Linked DNA regions of Homo sapiens: region 2 is linked to region 1. The links are contacts of gene promoters, found by promoter capture Hi-C in human tissues and cell types (Jung and others, 2019). All regions are on one chromosome and are shown on one strand. The core of a region is centred on a gene start or on the middle of the fragment in contact, and the rest is flanking DNA. Distances in the headings are between cores, read along the strand shown. Region 1 holds the start of GABBR2 (gamma-aminobutyric acid type B receptor subunit 2). Region 2 overlaps TBC1D2 (TBC1 domain family member 2).

The links. Contacts are between HindIII fragments. The study calls those that stand out against the background at their distance.
Region 2: a fragment that was not itself captured here is called in contact with the fragment with the promoter of GABBR2 in region 1 in 2 of the 25 tissues and cell types used here (H1 embryonic stem cells and thymus).

What each region holds. Positions count from the first base shown.
Region 1 is chr9:98,707,038-98,711,649 of GRCh38, forward strand. It overlaps GABBR2 (gamma-aminobutyric acid type B receptor subunit 2), which reads right to left and starts at 1,898. Exons shown (of 19, transcript NM_005458.8): 1 at 1,380-1,898. The coding sequence starts at 1,700. RefSeq lists enhancers at 1-95, 667-1,237, 2,990-3,284. The HindIII fragment of the contact is 12,748 bases long and covers 1-4,612 here.
Region 2 is chr9:98,229,039-98,233,650 of GRCh38, forward strand. It overlaps TBC1D2 (TBC1 domain family member 2), which reads right to left. Exons shown (of 13, transcript NM_001267571.2): 4 at 4,378-4,511; 5 at 1-110. It overlaps MIR6854 (microRNA 6854), which reads right to left and starts at 179; the gene lies at 111-179. The HindIII fragment of the contact is 4,287 bases long and covers 1-4,208 here.

The sequences.
Region 1 (4,612 bases), core at 648-3,147:
GCCAACTGCCACCGGTTCCTTCACCTTTTATTTACAGCGCAGAGCAAGCTGGTTCACCGGTGAAGCGGGGGAGGCAGGGAATAAGATACAATCTAGATTCTGCTCTTTCTCTGGGGACATAAAGAGGGTCCGACCAAGGAGGAGGGGAAGCCCAGATTGCACCACCAGAGCAGTAGCGCGACCCTCCTCCCAAAAGGGTTCTGCACCTGGACTCCAGCAGAAGCGCCCGGAGAGTCCCAGGAAGCCAGGATCAAGCCCAGCGCCTCGGCCCCGTTCCGCGCGATGGAAGAGGCGCCAACCGAGCGTACTGCACAGGAAATCACTGCCCCCTTCAGGCCGCGTCTCAGACGCTGCGGTCGGAGCACAGGGGCTCGCTCGGTCCGGAAAAACTCGCAAACCCGACCTTGCGCGGCCAGCGATCGCTCCTCCAGACCCGCTCCGCGCGCTCCAGCCCCGGCCTGGCGGTGAAGGTCCGCTCTGGGGCTTCAGGCAGAACCCAAACCGAGGGCGTGGGGAGGGGTCTTGGGATGGAAAGCCCTTGGCTCTCTGGCTCCGCTCCGGACTGCTCTCCAAGTCTGTGCTCCGGCTGCTAGGTCGGATGCTTCAAGCCTGAGCCGTGAGAAACTGCCTGCAGCCGCCCGGCCAACAGCAGCGGCGCGGCCGGACACCACTGCACGTCCGGGACGAGAACTGCCAGGGCACTTTCTGAGCAACTAACCCGAGGCAGGGGTCTCCTGAAATCGCTCTGGCCACAGGCAGCGCCGGGCACGTCCAGGCAGAAGCGCTGCAGAGCCGGTGGCCCCACACTTGCCCGCGCGGAGCGGGCTCAGAGCTGCTGGCGCGCACCAGGCGCCCAGCCACGCTGCACGCTCAAGCCCCTTGGGTTCCGGAGCCTTCCGGACCTCAAAGCGCGGCTCGGCTTCCCTGGGGGCCTGTGAGCAGGCCCGCGGCCCCTCCGGCCCTGGGTGGCCCAGTTTGCAGTCAATGCGCCTGTTCCTCCCACTCGGTACCTCGCAGCCCCATGAGCGGGACCTGGACAGGGACAATCAATGTAGGCCTTTGGGGGTCCAGCCCCCACCTTCTCCACTCCTTTTTCTCTGGTCAAAAGAGACCCCAGTCTTCTATCCCACCCCCACCCCTCCCCACACACACATACACACATAAGACCAGAGGAGGGGGTGCTTGGCAAATGTTACCAGCTGTGCCAGCCAAGCCCAGCAGGACCGCGGGGGTGAACACTGGGCACCAGCCCTCTCTGCCCTCGGCAGGCGCGGGCCGGTCAATCGGGGATCTGACCAAAGGCCGGAGGTTGCCTGTGTCCAAACCACCCACCCCAATGCCCCCCGAAGCCCCGACGGCAGGGGCAGCCGGACACTCACCTCCGTGTCATAGAGCCGCAGGTCGAGGAAGTAGGGGCGCAGGAGTGACTCGTTGCGGATCTGCTCGATGGCCAGTTCCACGGCGGGGAGCACACCGCGCCCGATGCTGCCCTTGGCCACCTCCTTGGTGAGCGGCATGAGGCCCATGATGGAGAGCGGCGGGCTGCTGGGCGGCGGCCGGGGGGCGCCCCGCGCCCAGCCCCAGGCCCCGGGCGCCAGAGGCAGCAGCAGCGGCAGCAGCAGTAGCAGTAGCAGGCGCGCGGGCGGCGGTGGCGGCGGCGGCGGCGGCCCGGGCTGCCCGGAGCTCCGCGGGGAAGCCATGCCGCGCCGCGGGCTGCGGGCGCCGGCTCACTCGGCCCGCATGGCCTGGCCCGGCCCGCCGCCCCGCGCCAAGGTCTTCCCGCGGCGCCCGCGCAATGGCGCCGGCCCGGGCCCCGGCTCCGTCTCGGGCTAGGGTTCCGGCTCGGCTCAGAACGGCCGCGGCGGCGGCGGCGGCAGCGGCGGCGCCCGTGACGGATCAATCACGCCGGGAAGGGGTGGGAGCGAGCGGAGTGCGGGAGGCGGGGAGCAAGCGAGCAAACGCGGAGAGGGGGGCCGGCGTCTCCGCGCGCGCCTCTCTCCAGCGCGGCCGCCCCGCACCGGGCCGCCTCCGCCCGCCCCCGTGCGCGCTCTGAACCGCTCTCCCGCCGGGAGCTGCTAGGCGGCAGCCCCTGGAGCTCGGCCGGGGGAGGGCGGACGGCAGGAAACGCGGGAGGCGAAGGCGAGGCTGCTCAGGGGCGGCTCGGGCCGCCTCCAGGGACGGGGACGAGCCGTGCGCGCCGGGGGAGGGGGAGGCGCTGGCGCTGCGGCGGCCGCGGGGAGGGCCACCTTCCCAGCACACGCACACACGCGCCCCCGGCCCTCCGCTGCGCCAGCTGCCGCTGCCCGCCGACCGCTGACCTCCAGGCACCAGAGCGCCCGGGGACAGCGATCTGGGAACCGGGACCGCGCGCTGGCACACGCAGTGGCCGCCGCCGCTCCGCCGAGCGCTGCCTGTAGCACCTGCACGGTGGTTTGGAACCGCTTCTCGGAGGTCTGGCCGGGAAGGTCTGGGCAGGAGAATGTTCCACGAAGGCGTCCCAGAGGCATCTGCAGCCTACGCTCTCCCGTTCTTTTCTGGCGCCCACGAGCCCCTGACCGAGTCCCGGGGGTCGCTGAAGACGCCCACGGGTGCTCGAACGCCCGTTGGTGCCAGGCTGCCCGGCCTTTAGGGCCTTGGCTGAGGACACCCCTTTCCTCCCCACCAGACGGAGCGACCGCCCTTTGCCAACCCCAAGCAAAGCTGGGGTCCCAACCTTACGTGCGCTACCGCCCCCTCCAGGCATTTGACCTCCCCGCGTCCCCATTCTTGATGGGCCCCGCCCTAGAAGTCTCCCGGGGTGGGAGCACTATCCTCAGGCCAGGGCGGGGCCGCGCGCCCCTGGACTTGGCCCTCTCTCTGCCAGGTCGCACTGGCCAATCTTAGCCAAAGCAGTCCCGAGCCAGATGTACCCGAGTGAGCTGACCTAAGACCTTGGGTTCCTTGTGCCTCTGCATACTTCAAGAATAGGAAACGTGATCATTAATCTATAAAGTCCCAGGGGCTGATTAATGCGAGGAACACAGTAGGACATCAAATCACAAAACATACTTGAGCCTGAACCAGGGACTGTGGAAGATATCGACGACCTTGTAACAAGAATGGAAGTTTGACCTTCGCTGAGTACTTACTGTGTGCCTTATGATGTAATCCCCACAACTGCCCTGTAAGCATACTGTGTTACTCACCCTTACTTTACAGGCGAATACACTGGTGCTCAGAGAGGTTCTGTAGCTAGTGGAAGCACACAGAGCTACTGAAGGACCGGAACCCAGAGCCAGCAGGAACTCCGTGCACAGTGCAGTGGGAGCCAGGGATGTGGGACTGCAAGTTTCCTCTCCAGGAGGAGCACTGCCCTGACTCAGTTGCTCTGGACATCGATTCCCTCCGGCATATGGTGAGGGATTTGGACCGGATGATGATGATGATGGCCACACACCAGCTCTACTGGAGTGAGGCAAGGGCAGCTCTGAATCCAGGCTGAGTTGTTAGGAAGCACAAAGATGTGAGTGGAGGCTGAGCAGAACTACTAGAGAGTACCTTGGACAGCGCCAGGGAAACCAGGCCAAATTCTCTCTGCCCTAACTTCTCTTTCCAGGCTTCTATAGACTCCACCTCTCCCGGCTCCACTTGGCATTTCCTTTTCCCCAAGCTGGAGGGTTTGCATGAACAGAACTCACCTGAGCATCTCCTCCAGGAAGGGAGGAAGGAAGGGAGGGAGGGAAAGAAATGGTCCAAAGGACAGTGTAATCCCCAGATACTCGCTCAACTGCTGTCTCACTTGACATCACAAATATCCTCCAGTCATAGTCTTCTGGCACCTGCCATTCCTCAAACCCTTAGCTCAGGTTTCTGAATGAACATTTTCACTTGGTTTTTTTCTTTTTTCTAATTCTTTCCTTTAGTCATTTGTGTCCTCCTTGCAAGCTGTGCCAATATAGAGTGTCCACTGACACCTACATCTGGGAATAAGTTGAAAGCTGGGTAACTTTGCCTGACATTTACTAAGGGGTTGAAGGCCCTACCTGGCATCCTGCCCTACAGCCCCTCTGTCTTCTTTTATGGTGGGGTGACCTGGCCCCAAGACGCATGACCTGGGATCTGCCCTGACCCAGGGGGCACCAATCTCACTCTCCATCAGCATGGCTCCAGGCCAATCTCTGATCTCACAGCCCACTCCTAATGCCTGGGCATCCCTCTGGTTCCAAGATCTTACTCTGGCCTGGTATTACAGTTTGGGTAACTGCATCCCTGATGTGCTTCCTGAGTCTGAGTTCCTGCCTCAGTCACCAGCCTAGAATGCATGTTCCTCCAGAGCTGGGGTCCAGCGTCTTGCTTTATAATAATCATTCATTCCTTTGACCAGTGTTTTGAAGGGCATGCTACCTGCTAGGCACTGTCCTAGGAGCTGATGATATAGGAAGGAAAAAACCAGAACAAAATCCCTGCCCTTGTAGAATTGACATTCTAGTGGAGAAAGAGAAACAATAAATAGGAAGAAGAAGATATGTTAGTATGCCCATTTATGAAAAGTGCTATGGTGAACAAAAAAGCAGGAAAGAGGATTGAGACTGGCAGAGTGGGGCTGCAATTTGAAATAGGGAGGTCAGGGAAA
Region 2 (4,612 bases), core at 815-3,314, 480 kb before region 1:
TCCTTCAGAAAAGAATGGGAAGGTGTTGTTCTGGCGCTTGGCTTTCTGAGCGAAACTGATGGTCAGAGAAGGCTTGGGTGCAGGCTTTGGAGAATCCTCTGGCTCTCTCCCTGCTCAAGAGGAGAAACGCAGAAGTTATGACTGATGACATCAGCAGTTCTCAAACCTGAGCTTGCTTTAGAAGCACCTGGAGGGCTTGTTAAAATGCGGATGGTTGGGCCCTAATTTCGGAGCTCTGGATTTAATAGGTCTGGGGCAGGGCTTGAGAATATGCACTTCTAAAAAGTTCCTAGGTGATGCTGACACAGCTTGTCCAGGGGTTAGACTGTGAGAACCACTGGCCTACATAAACGTTATTGCACTGTGCTGGCCCATCTGCTAAACTGTGCCTGTCTCCTTCCTTCAGATCCCACCCAGCCTGCATTGGTCTATCTCATGCCACCCTGCTGGTGTTTGCCAAGTGGCTTTCTCCTCAGGCACAAGCCCTGGCAGGATGTTCTGTTCCTTATTTCAGGATCCCACCTCTATGTACTAGGAGATTTTCAAAGCACACAGATCTGTCTGATGATAGGAACACAAAATGAATGTCTGTACTCTGCATTCTTGCTCCAGAGAGCAGCTCAAGCATTTAACTTGATTCTTCTTATTCCAAGCTAAGTTAAGAGATATATTTCCCCCACAGTTGATTGTCTCAAGGATGCATAGTCCTTTTATCTCCTGGGTTACAACCTATGGTTCACAGGCCAAATCCAGCCCACAGCCTGCTTTTACAAATAAAGCTTTATTAGAACACGGCCATGCCCATTTGTTTATGTGCTGTCTATTGCTGCTTTTACTCCTCAAAGGCAGAACTGAGTGCTTAAAACAGAAACCCTATGGCCCACAAAGCCTCGAATCGTTACTATCTTGCTCTTTACAAAAAATGTTTGCCACCCACTGTTTTTAAGTCATCAAAATTTTATTCTTAAATCAAACCAAACATCAGAGAATCATTCCCTTGTGTTGCCTTGTCCTGCCCTGACCCAGCTGTGCTTCTGGTCTCTGCCATCAGCCTGCATCAAGGGACATTTAAGGGCCTGACTATGTAGCCAAGGGCCCTTGAGAAGCTTGTTCACATGGGATATATACATCATGCCTATTATGAGTCCCCAGCAGAAGAAATTCCCTTCAGCCCTAGGAACTTCCAAGAAAAGCTTTGCTTCTTATAAGAAAATATGTTTTTAGTCTTATGGACACTGGAAATAATCTAGCTGCTTGCATTTCCCTCTTTGCCTTGGCTGCTGAGCTTACAGCCACATTTACTGCCTACTCTCAGATATTTTGTAGGATCGTAAATTGATCTTATCTAAATCTCCTAACCAAATTACTCATTTGCAGGAGTATGCATTTTAGTAAACTATTACCTATTTCTTGGGACTAAAGTGTTAAAGGTGTTGAAAATAAGAATGTGGTATGGCATCCCAGGATAGGGGACACGCAGGGCTTTGGGGATAGGCCAAATGACTTAGCATGAGACCAGGCCAAGGGCTGGCCAAACAGTCTTGAACAAATAAAGAGTTACTCCAGTAGGTGACAGGAACCAGACACTGAGTGCAAAAACAGTACCTTGCTCGGCCGGGCGTGGTGGCTCACGCCTGTAATCCTAGGACTTTGGGAGGCTGAGGCGGGTAGATCACTTGAAGTCAGGAGTTCGAGACCACCCGGCCAACATGGTGAAACCCCGTTTCTACTAAAAATACAAAAATTAGCCAGAAATCACTTGAACCCGGGAGGCAGAGGTTGTAGTGAGCCGAGATCATGCCAGTGCGCTTTAGCCTGGGCAACAGAGCGAGACTCTGACTCAAAACAAACGAACAAAACAACAGTGCCTTGCTGAGTGCAAAACCAGAACAGTCTTGTTCCAGATCGAAGAGAAATCAGGTTACACTGGGTACAAGGCAGCCTGCAGAGCTCAGAAATATGTACTACCTCTTTCTCCTTCCTGTAATGGGGTATAGGGGAGCAGGGAAGCTCCTTGTAGCACTGCTGCCCTCTGATACATGACTGTGCACCAACTCTGAGGACAGGCAGGGCAGGCCTCACAGTGCCCAGTTTATAATTAGAGAAAATAAGGCCTAAGACAGTGGTGTTCAATCAGTGCCCTGGATTTCATAGGAGTGCCTCAAGGGCTGACTGGGAGAGGAAGGTGGAGTAAGAGGAGCAGAGGAGGAGTCCAGACTCCAACTCCAGCCTCAACTCTGCTTTTTTTTTTTTTTTTTTTTTTTTTAATTTGTAGCTCATTTAGAGTCTCAAAAAGAATTTAGGTGTTTTTTATTAGTGTTCAAGAAACTCATTTGTACATATTAGAAAAGATTTATTGACATAAAAATAATCTTTTCCTCCATTTAAAAATCTGATTACAACCACTGTTTAACACAGTGTAAACACCGTTTAACACAGTTTAACACAGTGTTGAGATATTCAACACTTTATTAGAAAATAGGTTTTGTGTTAGATGATTTTGCCCAAATGTATGTGTTCCAAGCATGGTTAAGATAGACTGGGCAAAACTATACTGTTCAATAGGTTAAGTATATTAAATGCATTTTCAACTTATGATATTTTCAACTTATGGTGGATTTATCTGCTTTATATATTAGATTTTGTTCTGTCACTCACTCTGTGGCCGTGAGCAAGTCACTCCACCCTTCCATGCCTCAGTTTCCTTATTAATCTAATGAGGATAACAACAATATATACAATATATACAGTTCCAGTTGCTGTAAGAATTAAATAGGTCAAGGTAGGTAAAGTGCTTGGTACACACAGATGAAACTTGAAAAGATTCTACTAAGTCAAAGAAGCCAGTCACAGCATGGTATATTCCTTGGTATATTCCACTCACAGCAGATGTCGAGAACAGGCACAGCCATAGAGAAAGAAAGATGAGTGGCCACCTAGGGTTATGGGGCAGTGGGGATTAAGGTTGATGACTAAGGGTGCAGGTTTCTTTTTGGGGTAATAAAAATGTTCTAAAATTGATTATAGTGACGGCTGCATAATTCTGAGGATATACAGAAAGCCACTGAATTACACATTTTAAATGGGTGAATTGTATAGTACATGAATATATCTTAATAAAGTTGTTGCCAAAAAAAATGCTTACTGCCGCACTGGCATGAAGTAACTGCTAGTGTTATGATGATGGTGACTCATCCGATATAGCACTGGCCTTCTCTTGGACTGCTTGTTGTGCTCTCTAGGGCTCTGCCAGGCACTGACTGCTCCAAAGGGTGCTTTTTCTTTTCTTCTTTCTCTTTTTCTGTTTTTTTTTTTGACAGTGTCTCACTCTGTCACCCATGCATGATCACGGCTCACTGCAGCCTCGACCTCCCTGGCTCAAGTGATCCTCCCAGCTGAGCATCCCAAGTAGCTGGGACTACAGGCTTGCACCATGATCAGCTAATTTTTTTATTTTTTTGTAAAGACAGGGTCTCCCTGTGTTGCCCAGGCTTGTCTTGAACTCCTGGGCTCAAGCAATCCTCCAGCCTTGGCCTCCCAAAGTGCTGGGATTACAAGCGTGAGCCACCATGCCCAGCCTCTTCTTAATTTTTTACTCTGAAAAAATTATAGACTCACAGGAAGTTGCAAAGATAGTGCAGACATGTCCCAAGTACTCTTCACCAAGCTTCCCCTGATGGTGACATCTTACATAGCTATAGTACACTATCAACTCTAGGAAACTGGTGTTGGTACAATATGTGTGTATAGGTCTATGCCATTTTATCACATGTGTACATTTGTTTTTGGTTTTGTTTGAGACGGAGTCTCACTCTGTCACCCAGGCTGGAGTGCTGTGGTGCAATCTCGACTCACTACAACCTCTGCCTCCCAGGTTCAAGTGGTTCTCCTGCCTCAGCCTCCTGAGTAGCTGGAATTGTAGGCACTGGCCACCATGCCCAGCTAACTTTTGTATTTTTAGTAGCGTGGTGGTATTAACAGGTGGGGCCCTTGGGAGGTGATCAGATTTAATGTCATGAGGGTGGAGCCCCTGATAAGATCAGTACCCTTAGAATAAGCAGCAGAGACCAGAGCTCTTTCGGCCACGTGAACACACAGTGAGAAGGTGGCCATCTATCTGCAAGCCAGGAAGGGAGCCCTCACCACACATTGAATCTGCCGGCACCTTGATCTTGGACCTCCCAGCTTCCACACAACTGTGAGAAATAAGTATCTGTTATTTAAGCCACGCAGTCTATGGTGTTTCAGTAAGTAGCCCAAGCCAACTAAGACACACACAAAAGCACAAATGCTGGTTCGCTGGAAGGAAAGAAGGCACTTGTGCCAGCCGTGAGGAGCTGGTCCCTGAAGGCAGCTCAGCCCTGGACAGAGGCTCACCTGGGGTGCTGGCGTCAGAGGCCAAGGGCTGCTCCTCCCTCTGAGGCTCCCCACTCTGTGGAGAATCTTCCCCTGGAGGTTCATGGCCTGTTCCCTGGGCCTGCTTGTTGCCACGGATGTTGTGCATTGTGTTCCTGAAAGGAGACAAGAACAGAGGAGCATGAGGCTGAACCCTGCCTTTCTGCCCTTCTGTCCTTCCCGCCACCACTGCTGGAGCTCAGGTCTCATCCCCACA